Linked DNA regions of Homo sapiens: region 1 is linked to region 2. The links are contacts of gene promoters, found by promoter capture Hi-C in blood cells and fetal thymus (Javierre and others, 2016). All regions are on one chromosome and are shown on one strand. Each heading gives the region's core, a stretch centred on a gene start or on the middle of the fragment in contact. The rest is flanking DNA. Distances are from core to core; before and after follow the strand shown.

Region 1 (5,610 bases), core at 2,487-4,986, 480 kb after region 2:
GTGGAAGAGCTTCCATTATTCATAAGTTACACATAATAATTAACAACTGCTATGCATAAATACATAAAGGTTCTACTGCTGTGCCAAATTTTGCCAGTGGTTGGGACTGGTACAGTTCAATTTAACAAATGCTTATAGACATCCTTCTGTGTGCCAGACACTTACAGGACCAACAGTACACTGATGAATAAGCTCCTATTCATGGAGTTCTACCAAGGAAAACAGCTATAACACAAGTTTAACTTTTACAATCAGGGCGTACACAAAACTGTGAAAGAAAATCTGATCTTGTTAGAGGCTTGGGGACAGAAGTAAGCCTACAAACTCCCTTGCCCACTGTCCCATGAGGGAGAATATTCCTTTCCAATTTGTTTCACCAACATCAGGAACGTGGCCAGTGTGTGGTCCATGAAAAGGTCTACACATAGGTTTCTTCTCTCTTGCTCTCTTTTCTAGGGGTGTAGACCAACGTGCACTTGGTTCATGGCACATTATCACCACTGGTCCACACAGTGCCCCCTCATCTTATTTGTTACCTTTCTCAAGAGAATAGAGGAATGGGGTCCATAAACTTTGAGATATGTTTCCAGTTGAACCAACAGACCCAACCACCTACATTAATGGTGTTGGAATACTACTCATCAGTAAAAAGTAGAGCTGGCCTGTGAGTGTTCTGGTCAACTAAAGGTATCTGGCTCTCTTTGTCTGCAAATAAATAGCAAGTCTCCCTACTTCTTTTTAAATAAAATTCCAAATGTACGTAACATGTAAAACAATGCCACTGCATGAACATGTACATAACTGTACTATTCTTTTTTTAAATTCTCAGCCTGGAAATTACATTTCAAGTACTAGAATATTCAACAAATCCTAAGACTTTTATGAAGACCATGAGAAGAAAATAAGGTACTAGAACAAAAGTGATGCAGCCAGCCAATTCTCGTTTCATGTCTCAAGACCCAGTTCTTATTATTATAGATCCCTTTGTGGGGTTAGCTTGGATTTTACTGCGGGATCCATCACCAAAGGTTATTAACTATTCCTTAACACCTGGTACACAAACCCCTCTTTCTGAGACTGCTTTGACAAAAATAAACAAAAAAGTGTGAAATAAATCAAGATTTGACTGACCATCCTAGGTCTACCCAACTGCTAGCTGAATGACTTTCAAAACGTCTTTAAATTCTTAAGGACTCAATTTCTTCCTCCGTAAAATGCAGATAGTAACTGTTTTGGGCATTTTAACTTAACAGCAATAACAAAAACTACAGGAAGATAAGTAATTATTGACCCCATTGTATCACATGGATCCCCTGGCAATTAAAAAAAAAGATGAATGAGATATTAAGAAATAAAAAGGAAAACAGAGTAAAGACAAAACAGAAATAAAGAAGGAAACCCAAAAGGAAAGAAAATGGCACATAAGCACTAAATGGTAGCATTTTATCATTATTTTATTTATAGTCTACACTAACTGTGTGCTCTTCCATACAAAAGATGCATCTAAAAACTAACTTGTTTGATAAATGGGGGGAGGACAAGGTGCCTCTAAGATAGGTGTGCTTAAATCCAGAGCAGCCGTAGCTTTTATCAAATTCTCTTCCAACCTGAAAAATCTAACGATTCTATGAAATAACTTCAATTTGTGAAAGCCCAAGCAAAAGAAATTCAAAGTTAAAAAAAAAAAAAAAAGAAAATGTGACTTTGACTCAGGTCAGTCAAGTATTACCAGGATAGATAAAAGTAGATTTTTAGCAATACAGTTAACAATGGGTCTTGCCACAATAATAGCAAACATCCAGATATTGGAAAGGAATCAGATGGTAAATTTAAAAAAGACTGTTTTCAATCCTTATATTTGGCTTCACATAGATTCAGTGTATTTTAATTCATTTTTTTTTAAAAAGCATGGATCAGTTAAGGAAATAATATAAGTTCATTCTGATCTTTAGGAAGACATTCTTCCCCCCATATTGTTCACTTTGACAATTTCTCTTTTTTCTTATTTGGCCAAAATATAACGTATTCTCTAAACAAAACACAGATGTTTCCTTTGCAGCTTTTATACAAATCTCTTGCTTTTCCAACATGATTTGGCAACTCAAAATCCAAAGCACCCTAGAAAATATTATGTTTACACGTCTTATTATTCATCTTTGTGTCTCCAATATAGTTTCAATTTGACTATACCTTTCAGTGTATAGGGAACCACTCAGCTTGAATCTTTTAGGTTCAAAAATTCCATAAATTTTAAATGAGGCAAGTAAAAGGAGGTGGAGAAGCTCATAACTCCATTTCTTATGGCTTTAACAATAAAAGAACGTACCTGGTATGTACTTAAAAATGTACTATGTGCCACAAAGCTCCCCCACTCAACAATCTCCCTCCTGACACAGTCTACCCTCAAAATAAAGTCAACTACTCCTCATCTCTCTGCTTCCACTTCCTTCCAATTCACAAATACATTGTTAATTTCCTCTTTGCATTTCAGAGAGCAGTTTATCAGCACAGGATAGTCTTTAACAAAATTGTTGTGAGTGAAGATAGGGTAATTAAAAAAAAAATCATGTTAAGAACTGTTAATAGTCAAGAGTTGTAACTTTTCAACCAGGAAGAGCTATGGTTCTGAATTTGCTACAACTGCTCCTTGAAGTGGACAAACATAACTAGCCTTGGGAACACTCAGTTTAAGACCATGACAAGCTATTTCAATGAATTATATAAAGAAACATAGTTGCTTTCACTGCCTCAAATAACACCGCAGTAATTCTGTGATACACTTCAGAAGAGTTAGCACTGGAGGGAAAAGAGCCTGTGCGGCAGCCCTTGGTGACTACATTTCCCTCCAGCGCAATGCAGGTAGCAGGACATCAGCGCTTTGAGAACTAGCATAAGCTGCTGCAGAATCATCGACTGGCAACAATGTGCCTTCCCAGAGAGCCTGGTCTTGGAGAATCCAGGCTATGAGGCTTGCAAATGCTGCATGAGTTTTATGGCTACCAGGTTGGGAGCAAGGTTTTTTAACGGCTTCCTGAATGTCAGATGGCAACTGGTTTTTTCTTCAAACAATGGCATATTCTTTAAGAAAATCAAATTATCAATGAAATTTGCCATGTGACCACAGGCAAGTTAACTATTCTTGCATTTTTCAGACTAGGTTTCCTTATCTCTAAACTAGAGAAAATGATACCTACATGTCACAGGGGAACTGGAAGGATTAAAAGACAAAATGTGTGTAAAGCTTCCAGCACAATGTCTGGCACAAAACGGTTGCCCCAAAAAGTTCAATACTCTTCCTTTCCCTGCTCCCCCTCCCAACAAAACAGGAAAAGGCAACAGCCAAGTAACTAAACAACTTCTTAATATTCCAAGTTTCTACCCAATCATCTCTTCTTCTTTTAAAACCACAGGCTTGAAATCTTTACTGTTTACTGTCAACAACGGCATATACTGCTGTACAGTCAGAATTTTAGAATTTAGAAATCAAATATAACCCCCTTATTCAACAGATGCTGCCGGGGGAGATAAAAGGGCTTTCCTTTTATCTGTATCATCTTGATTTAGTAGCAGAACCTAAACTCGAAAAATAAACGTGGAATAACAGGAATACTATTTTTTAACATGTTTTTCAAAAATCAAACCTGAGCCTACATAACCCATTGTGCAAACAGTCCCTTTAGGAGAAAAACTGCAACTGTGATTAATTTCTCTCAAGAATATTTATTTCCCATTTGGAGAGTTTCACATGTTTCCAAACATATTTTCTTGATGTCCTCCATGTCATTGTGTATTCTCTCCTTCCCTTAATTTGTTTCTTTTCCAGTGTATAAATCTATTGCTCTATTATAGATTATTATAATATAAACTCATAAATTCAGGAATTTAAAAAAAATCTTTAAAAGCATGCTTCTCAGAAATCATTACACTCTGTTAAACACTTGCTATCTCTCAACTTCTAGATAGATTCCTCAAGAGAGAAGTCCTTTTTTCATTCTGAACTTCTAATTCTCAAATTTTGATTGTGTCCTGTTAGTTACCAAACACACCATTATACTACTACTCTCATTTCAATATTGTACATAAACGATTCCCCATCTTACTAATGAAATGCTTTTTTAAAGCAGTAACATATTTAACATGTGCACATGTTATGAAGAGTATAGGCAAACTCAACTATTAAAAACATGTAACTATAAGGAAAGCCATCTTAGACACTATATGTGACTACAGCTAAGCTTTTCTCTTAAGTATCTAAAGCAAATCACCAGACTTTTACATAGTACCCTCACATAGCTAGATAAGAAAGTAAAAGTAAAATAATGAAAGCAGACTCTAAACAGCAGAAGCTCCAAACTCCTTAGTTTCTCTGTTGTGCTCAATCCTTTAGCAAATTACAGGCCTGAAAACAAGGAGTAGCTCTATCACTTAACAAGTGACTAAGGAATGACTTTGTTAATTAGAAGTCCAAGGGTGAGAGGCTCCTTTCCACCAAAGCTCTGAATAAACATCAACATCAGGTCAACCAGAGTTGTCTTGGTCCCAGGAGTAGCTTAAGCGGATGACTCAAATTCCCAGCAGAATTCTAGTTTAATATTTATTGGAACTCCGAGCTTAGTCACACAGTGACTTGGAATTTAAGACACATGGGGTCTCTTCTTTCCATCCTTAAAGATATTTTTGCTAAGTGACACAAAGTTAAAGAGGCAAGATGGGTTTTAATTTAGAGTTTTTATTCCCTGAGGTGTAAGAAATTAAAATTTTATTTTCTGGGGAGAGTGAACCATACTAGCTCTGAATTTCAAACACAACTATTAACCCTGTCAGATAATTCTATTATCAAGTTTTACAAAACTGTTTACTATTATTATTTTTTTTTGCTACCCCAGCCCTATGTATTGAAAGTGGAAAGAAGGAAGGGAGGGAAGGAGGGAAGGAGAGAGGGAGAATGGATGAATGGATGTATGTCACAATCACCTTTCTAGCCAAAACTGCAACATATGCTGGAGTTCTTGAAATTATTTCAACCAAAAAAAGAATCACAGGACTCATAATTTGTTTAGCAGGTAATTATTTGCCCCATTATCTTCAAGAACAATCTATCTTAAAACTGTGTATAGCTTTTTAAGAAATCTTAATACTAAGAGGATCCTTTTTTTCATAACCCCAAAGAGTGTTTTCTTCCTCTATTTTTGAATTGCCAGCCTTCTCAATTCTTTAAATCTGATTCACATTATACTACTTTTAGAGTTCTAGGCTAAATGTTTATCCATAGCATGATTCAAGGTATTAATTTCAACAAAATACTAATATAATGATAAAATGTATCACATTTATTTTCAACTCTTTCCTATTCTTCTGATTTAAGAACTTAAAGAAAAATATTTTATGTTTCGGGTGCATTTTGATAAGCTAAAATACCACAACTTTTGTAATTCTTCATTTGTAATATTTGCAAGATAGTGTAGGGATCAATTTGAATTTCAAGGTTCATGATATAGAGTATGTACCATAACAGTGAGAAAAGTTAGTATAAATTCCTACTCATCTCAGTTTCTATATTTATTGCAACAAATTAAAACTGCATTTCATAACTCGTAGTAAAACAAAAGG
Region 2 (5,807 bases), core at 2,554-5,053:
ATGAGTTAATTTCAGGCCACCTAAAAACTCTGATGTAATAATAGAATCAAAGACACCAAGCAGATCACAAGGTCAGGAGTTCAAGACCAGCCTGGCCAACATGGTGAAACCCCATCTCTACTAAAAATACAAAAATAAGCCGGGCATGGTGGCGGGCACCTGTAATCCCAGCTACTAGGGAGGCTGAGGCAGGAGAATCATTTGAACCCAAGAGGCAGAAGTTGCAGTGAGCCAAGATCATGCCATTACACTCCAGCCTGGGCGACAGGGTGAGAATCCATCAAAAAAAAAAAAAAAAAAAAAAAAAGACCCCAAGATTGTACTATTCCTAAAATTTTTGAAGTCAAGGAGAAACTAGTGTCCTTGTAGATTAGATTCATTTCCCATGAAATGTGGGGTTTAGGCCCAGCTCCATCATATCTGCATATCTTGGCACGTATATTTTTAAAAATATAATCACACTCTTACCCTTTTAAATTGCAAAAATGTCGCCTCTGACTACCTGCCATTAATAGTAAGTAACATTCATTACAGAAGCACATCTTTTCAAACCCCAACACTGCCTCCTTTACATTCTATAATATGAAAGTTAAATAACCTAAATAATAACCCTGCAATTACTATTGAAAAAAATACCAGCTATGCTAAAATGAAACTGGATATTTTTCACTTGTTGTTGTTATAGAATATATGTGTAGAATACAAAAATAATAATTTGCACTCATCCAACTTCTTTCACTTTAGTGTCTCAAATCCCGGAGTGTAAGTGGTCTCATTAAGTTTACCAAACCAATTTAACTCTAACATGCTCTTGAACCCTCTCTCCAAGTCCACTGAGGCTTTTCTGTCACGAATGCTGAACAATATCATCTGAAATTCTGAGCATTCTGTAGATATGTTTGACCTTCTGCAGATAAAACTCACTTAATCGTTAAGTTATATATTAAAATAGACAAAACTACCTAAATAAAAAAGAAAAATATGACTGTTGTGTATTTCCCTACACCTACACACATCCACAAACACTCACATGTACAAAATAATTTATCTATAACTGGATTTATTAGAATGAGGAAAGCTTTGGCTATAAGAACAGCTAGAAAAACAAGAAGAAATATGCTTTATCTGGATCTATGGAAACAAAGTCCATTGGTTTCTAACCTCCATTTATTTAGGCAACAAGTGCTACTCAAATATTTATTTATTTATTTCTGTTCTGCACTTCATGTTAGAAAATGCTCACTTTTTTTTTTTTTTTTTTTTTTTGGAGGCAGGGTCTCACTTTGTTTCCCAGGTTGGTCTTGAAATCCTGGGATCAAGTGATCCTCCCACCTTGGCCTCCCAAAGTGCTGGGATTAATGGTGTGAGCCACCACACCTGGCCACTTCTTCAGATATTTATTGAGGACCCATTACATTATAGGAACTATGGAGGATACAAAGATAAGTTATTCATAGGAAGTATACAAATACTGAACTAATTCCAGCACAAGTGGAGTATGGTTAAGTTCCATGAAGATGAGGGCAGTGTAGATATCATTTAGCTCTGTATCTCCAGTGCCTGATATTGTGAATAGCAAATAGTAGGTTGGCAGGATGTGTTTCATGGATATGGAATGAAAGAATAATGCCCTCAAATAATGTAGAAGTTCAAAGGAAGGAGGGACTACTTCTGCCTGGTGTTACTCAGAAAAGCTTTCTAGATGATGAAGTATTTGATCTGAGTCTAAGGGATGATGGGATGGGTTCTAACAGAGAGAATTCACATATCAGGCAGAGGCCATCACACTGTCACAAAGATAGAGGGAAGAAAGTGTGAGACAGCCTTTAGGAATAGCAAATCATTCAGTTTGGCAGTTCGGCATAGGAAATCAATAAGGTGGGGGTAGTGCACAGATAAGACTGAAAAATTAGATTGAGTCCAGACTGATGAAATCCAGAAATGCCAAGTTAGGGAGTCCAGATTTTATTCTTGAAGAAAACTCTGACTATTTGTGTTCAGATGCCTATACAACAGCTTAGCCACTTGCCAAGGAGTCATCAGCCTTGATCCTGCTTCTGAAGATATCAGAGGGAGTCATCAGAAGCACGTCCTAATTATATTACCAGCTACTCTCCAAGAAGCTACTCTAAGAGAAAACCTGCAAAGTGCAGCAGTCCCAGAAAAGAAGATGAAGATTAAAGAAGAAGGAGGATATTTAGAAATGATTAATGTTGGTCAGTTTCATCAGTTCGAAGTCTGTTATCAGATACCTGTTATATTTACTATGGCACTTTGAACACAAGTTACTTTAATTCTAGTCTTTGCAGACTTAATGCACAAATCTTAAAAGGCAAAAAAAGTTCCAAGAGAAAATATGCCTTTTAAGAGACCTCTAAATATGTTATAAAATGTAGCTTCTGTCTAAGAAGAGACTGATTCTTTGAGGAAAATGGTAGAGAGTAGGCTCCCTGGATACACAGAATTGTCCCATTCATTCACTGAAAACACACATGACCAGAGGAGCTGTAGGTAAAGTTATAAAACATGCCTTGAGCAATTTACAAGGAAATTGAAAAAAAAGTACCACTCTTAAGTACTAGAAGATTTATAATATTTGACTTTAGCTTCTTGACTATTTCCATTTTTTAGTTAAGAAAGTTAAGATTAAAAGGTTTAAATAACTTATCCAAGCCCAAAAAAAAAGTAGCACAGCCAGAATCCATCCAAATTTGTTTGACTCCAGAGAGCATACTCTTTCTCACGTATCACATAATAGCCTTAGAGTCTGCCCTCGTATATGGAAAACACTCTAATGTAGTAGCTAAAAGCAGGAGCTCTAGCTAAAAGCAAGACCTAGGTTATAGGTCTTGGCTCTACCTCCTGTTAGCTGTCTGACTTTGCACCTGTTACCAACTTTTTGTGCCTCCATTTTCTCAACTGTAAAATGAGGGGAAATAATATTTCTTTTTTTTTTTTTTTTTTTTTTTTTTTTTTTTGAGGACGAGTCTTGCTCAGTCGCCCAGGCTGGAGGGCAGTGGCGCGATCTCGGCTCACTGCAAGCTCCACCTCCTGGGTTCACGCCATTCTTCCGCCTCAGCCTCCCGAGTAGCTGGAACTACAGGTGCCCGCCACCACGCCCGGCTAATTTTTTTGTATTTTTAGTAGAGACGGGGTTTCACCTTGTTAGCCAGGATGGTCTCGATCTCCTGACCTCATGATCCTCCCGCCTCGGCCTCCCAAAAGTGCTGGGATTACAGGCATGAGCCACCGTGCCTGGCCAAAAATAATATTTCTTAAGGTAATATTTCATAATGTAAGTCCTTACCTTATAGAGTTGATGTGAGATTTAAATGAGATAATACATATAAAATGCTTAGGAAAATGGCAGGCCCAAATAAAATGCTCATTAAAATTAGCTATTATTTTTCAGTGAAATTTCATTATAATTGCAATAATTTAGACAGTTCACTTCACATTTTCTTGATCTCAGTCAACACACGAAGTCTTCCTTCAATCAAAAAGAAATCCCTGGAAAAATTTTATGCAGTCATTAATTTGTACACAAAGGAATATATGAAATGTTAATATGGGTAAAAGTCACAAGAGTTTGGTTGCTTTTTGGAAAGACAACTCTTGCTCTGGTAACTTTTCTGAAACTGATAAATTTCACTGATTAGCACTTTTGCTATCTGTTTCTTTCCCGACAGTACAAAACCCCAGATAAGATGACACATTTCCGTAGTCTGCAAACTTACCCATGAATGTAGGAGATCCATATCTGAGCAGGAAGACTTGAGACGTGTGTGGCGAATACAAGAGGAGCAGTGGTCCCAGGGTCCAACTTGTGCTATTTGGAAATCAAGACATGTCCAGAGAGGGTTTTCAGGAAAAGGCTTCCAGTGATGCCACATGTAAGCTTCACCTTCATACCAAGCTAATTTATCTTCCAAGTTGCAGTTATTTAAAGTGCTGGATCTACCCAGTGATGCAGAAAGAGTATCCAATCTAATCTCCATTTCTTCCTTCCTCCTCGTGCTAACACTATTCACTTTCTTTTCTCGGGACTTGGTTAATTTCAAACAAGAAATCAACGTGTCATCTTCATCTTCTGAATGACAAAGAAATAGGTTAAAAACTATGATTATAATTCTTCACATATAGGAATTATTCTTCCATTTATATAAGAGAAATAAATACACTGCAATGGATAAACCAAGAAGTCATTCAATTTTATAAAATTATTTACAGCAGCATTTATTTAAAAAGCAAGTTATTTTGCTATATAAAATTTTTTGTTTTGTAAAAGTCGCATTTTTCTGACATTTTTGAAACCATAACAATTGATTAAATTCTATCTCACTGGAAAGAATGGAGGCCACATACAAATAATATGCTGAAAGATATTTGAGAAAAAAATACAATTAAAAAACCCACCTCTTATGTTTCTATTCTTAAATATTTTTTTAATTTTTAAGGTCATGTGTATAATAAAGAATTATAAGGAAATAAATAAAATTATTTGCCCTACTTAAAAGAATAAAATCTCAGTGGTTTGGACTGAAATCCTACTGACATTCTGAAATTGTCTATTTTAATATCAATCTACCAAGAGATGTATGGATGCAGTGTGTCTCACAGTGAAATGGTTTTCAAAAAACAAGAACGACAAAAATTTAAAAAAGCCATATCTGTAATACCATAAAGTTCATTTGTGAGATCTATATTTACACAATGTGGCAAAGACTCTGATGAAATTTCTAGTAATGTAGAAAACAGTTACAGAAAATAGAAATATATATCACCCAGAGTCAATTGCTCTATGTCATGGAATCCCTTTAAATCCAAACGTTTAATGGGTATTTTTAAAAGAGTTCGATTACTTAAGGCATGCTATTATAAATAAATAAATGAAAATCAAAGTTGCATGCCATGGACATACCAATTTGTTATGCTTACATCAAAATTCAAATACATTGTTTTCTATGGCCAAGGAATGGCGACAGTGGACACTGCTGAGCTTCCTCCATTGCTCTCTCTCACTGTGTCTCGGAGCCCGGTCTTGAAGGCAAGGAGAAACGGGGCGGTGCATAAATACGGGGTAAAATTCAGGAACAGATGGGGATGTCTGTTTTAAAATAACTTGGCAATAAAAAAAAATCCTCAATGTTTAATGATTATCTTAAGACTTTATCAAAATGGGCTTCATTAACGTATGCTTCCTTAGTTCTCCCTCAAAGGAGTTTTAACAGCTTATTGAGTTCTTACTTACGGAGGTTTATTAATGTCGGTTTCACCTCATCCAGATTCTGCACTCTGGCTTTCTTAGTCCAAACCAGTTTCTGTAGTCGCTTTAATGTCCCCATTGATTCCACAGGGTCACTGCCTGATTTTATGGCCTAGCACAAACACAGCTCAAGGTAAAGACAAATTATTCCTCACAAAAGATTAAATATAAAATATGTTGAGATCATAAATGTGGAAAAATTAATAATGTGACCTTAAAACCTGAAGCCTGAGTCAATTTAAGCACTAACTTGAAAGCACACCATACTTTTTGGGTTCAAAATTATAAAATATGTTACAACTGGCCAGGCATACTAAAGCAGAGTGGTTTTACCATTTTTTTTTTTTACTTCAAAATACAGCAAAATGGATTGAATTCAGAAATATCTATAAATGACTCACTCCTGCCCACTGTGAAACAGCGGAAAAAAACAAGATCTTTGCAGTGTAATATAGATGGAACAAGAGGTTCAAAGTTGCTATTTGCTAGTATTGGAATAGACTGATAGTATACAAAGTCTACCTGCTAATATTAGATAAAG

The links. The method cuts DNA at HindIII sites, captures the fragments that hold promoters and counts their contacts. A CHiCAGO score of 5 or more calls a contact.
Region 1: a contact is called between a fragment that was not itself captured here and the fragment with the promoter of SAMSN1-AS1 in region 2, in 1 of 17 cell types (erythroblasts). The highest score is 5.4, in erythroblasts.

The regions. Positions count from the first base shown.
Region 1 is chr21:15,054,616-15,060,225 of GRCh38, forward strand. All of the region lies in intron 1 of NRIP1 (nuclear receptor interacting protein 1), which reads right to left. Among named protein-coding and RNA genes, the nearest start is that of NRIP1, 7.6 kb to the right of the region's middle. RefSeq lists enhancers at 2,583-2,632, 2,853-2,902, 4,278-4,327. The HindIII fragment of the contact is 994 bases long and covers 3,240-4,233 here.
Region 2 is chr21:14,578,399-14,584,205 of GRCh38, forward strand. SAMSN1-AS1 (SAMSN1 antisense RNA 1) reads left to right here and starts at 3,804. Exons shown (of 5, transcript NR_046512.2): 1 at 3,804-3,893. It also overlaps a transcript of SAMSN1 not described here. RefSeq lists an enhancer at 1-84. The HindIII fragment of the contact is 2,204 bases long and covers 1,693-3,896 here.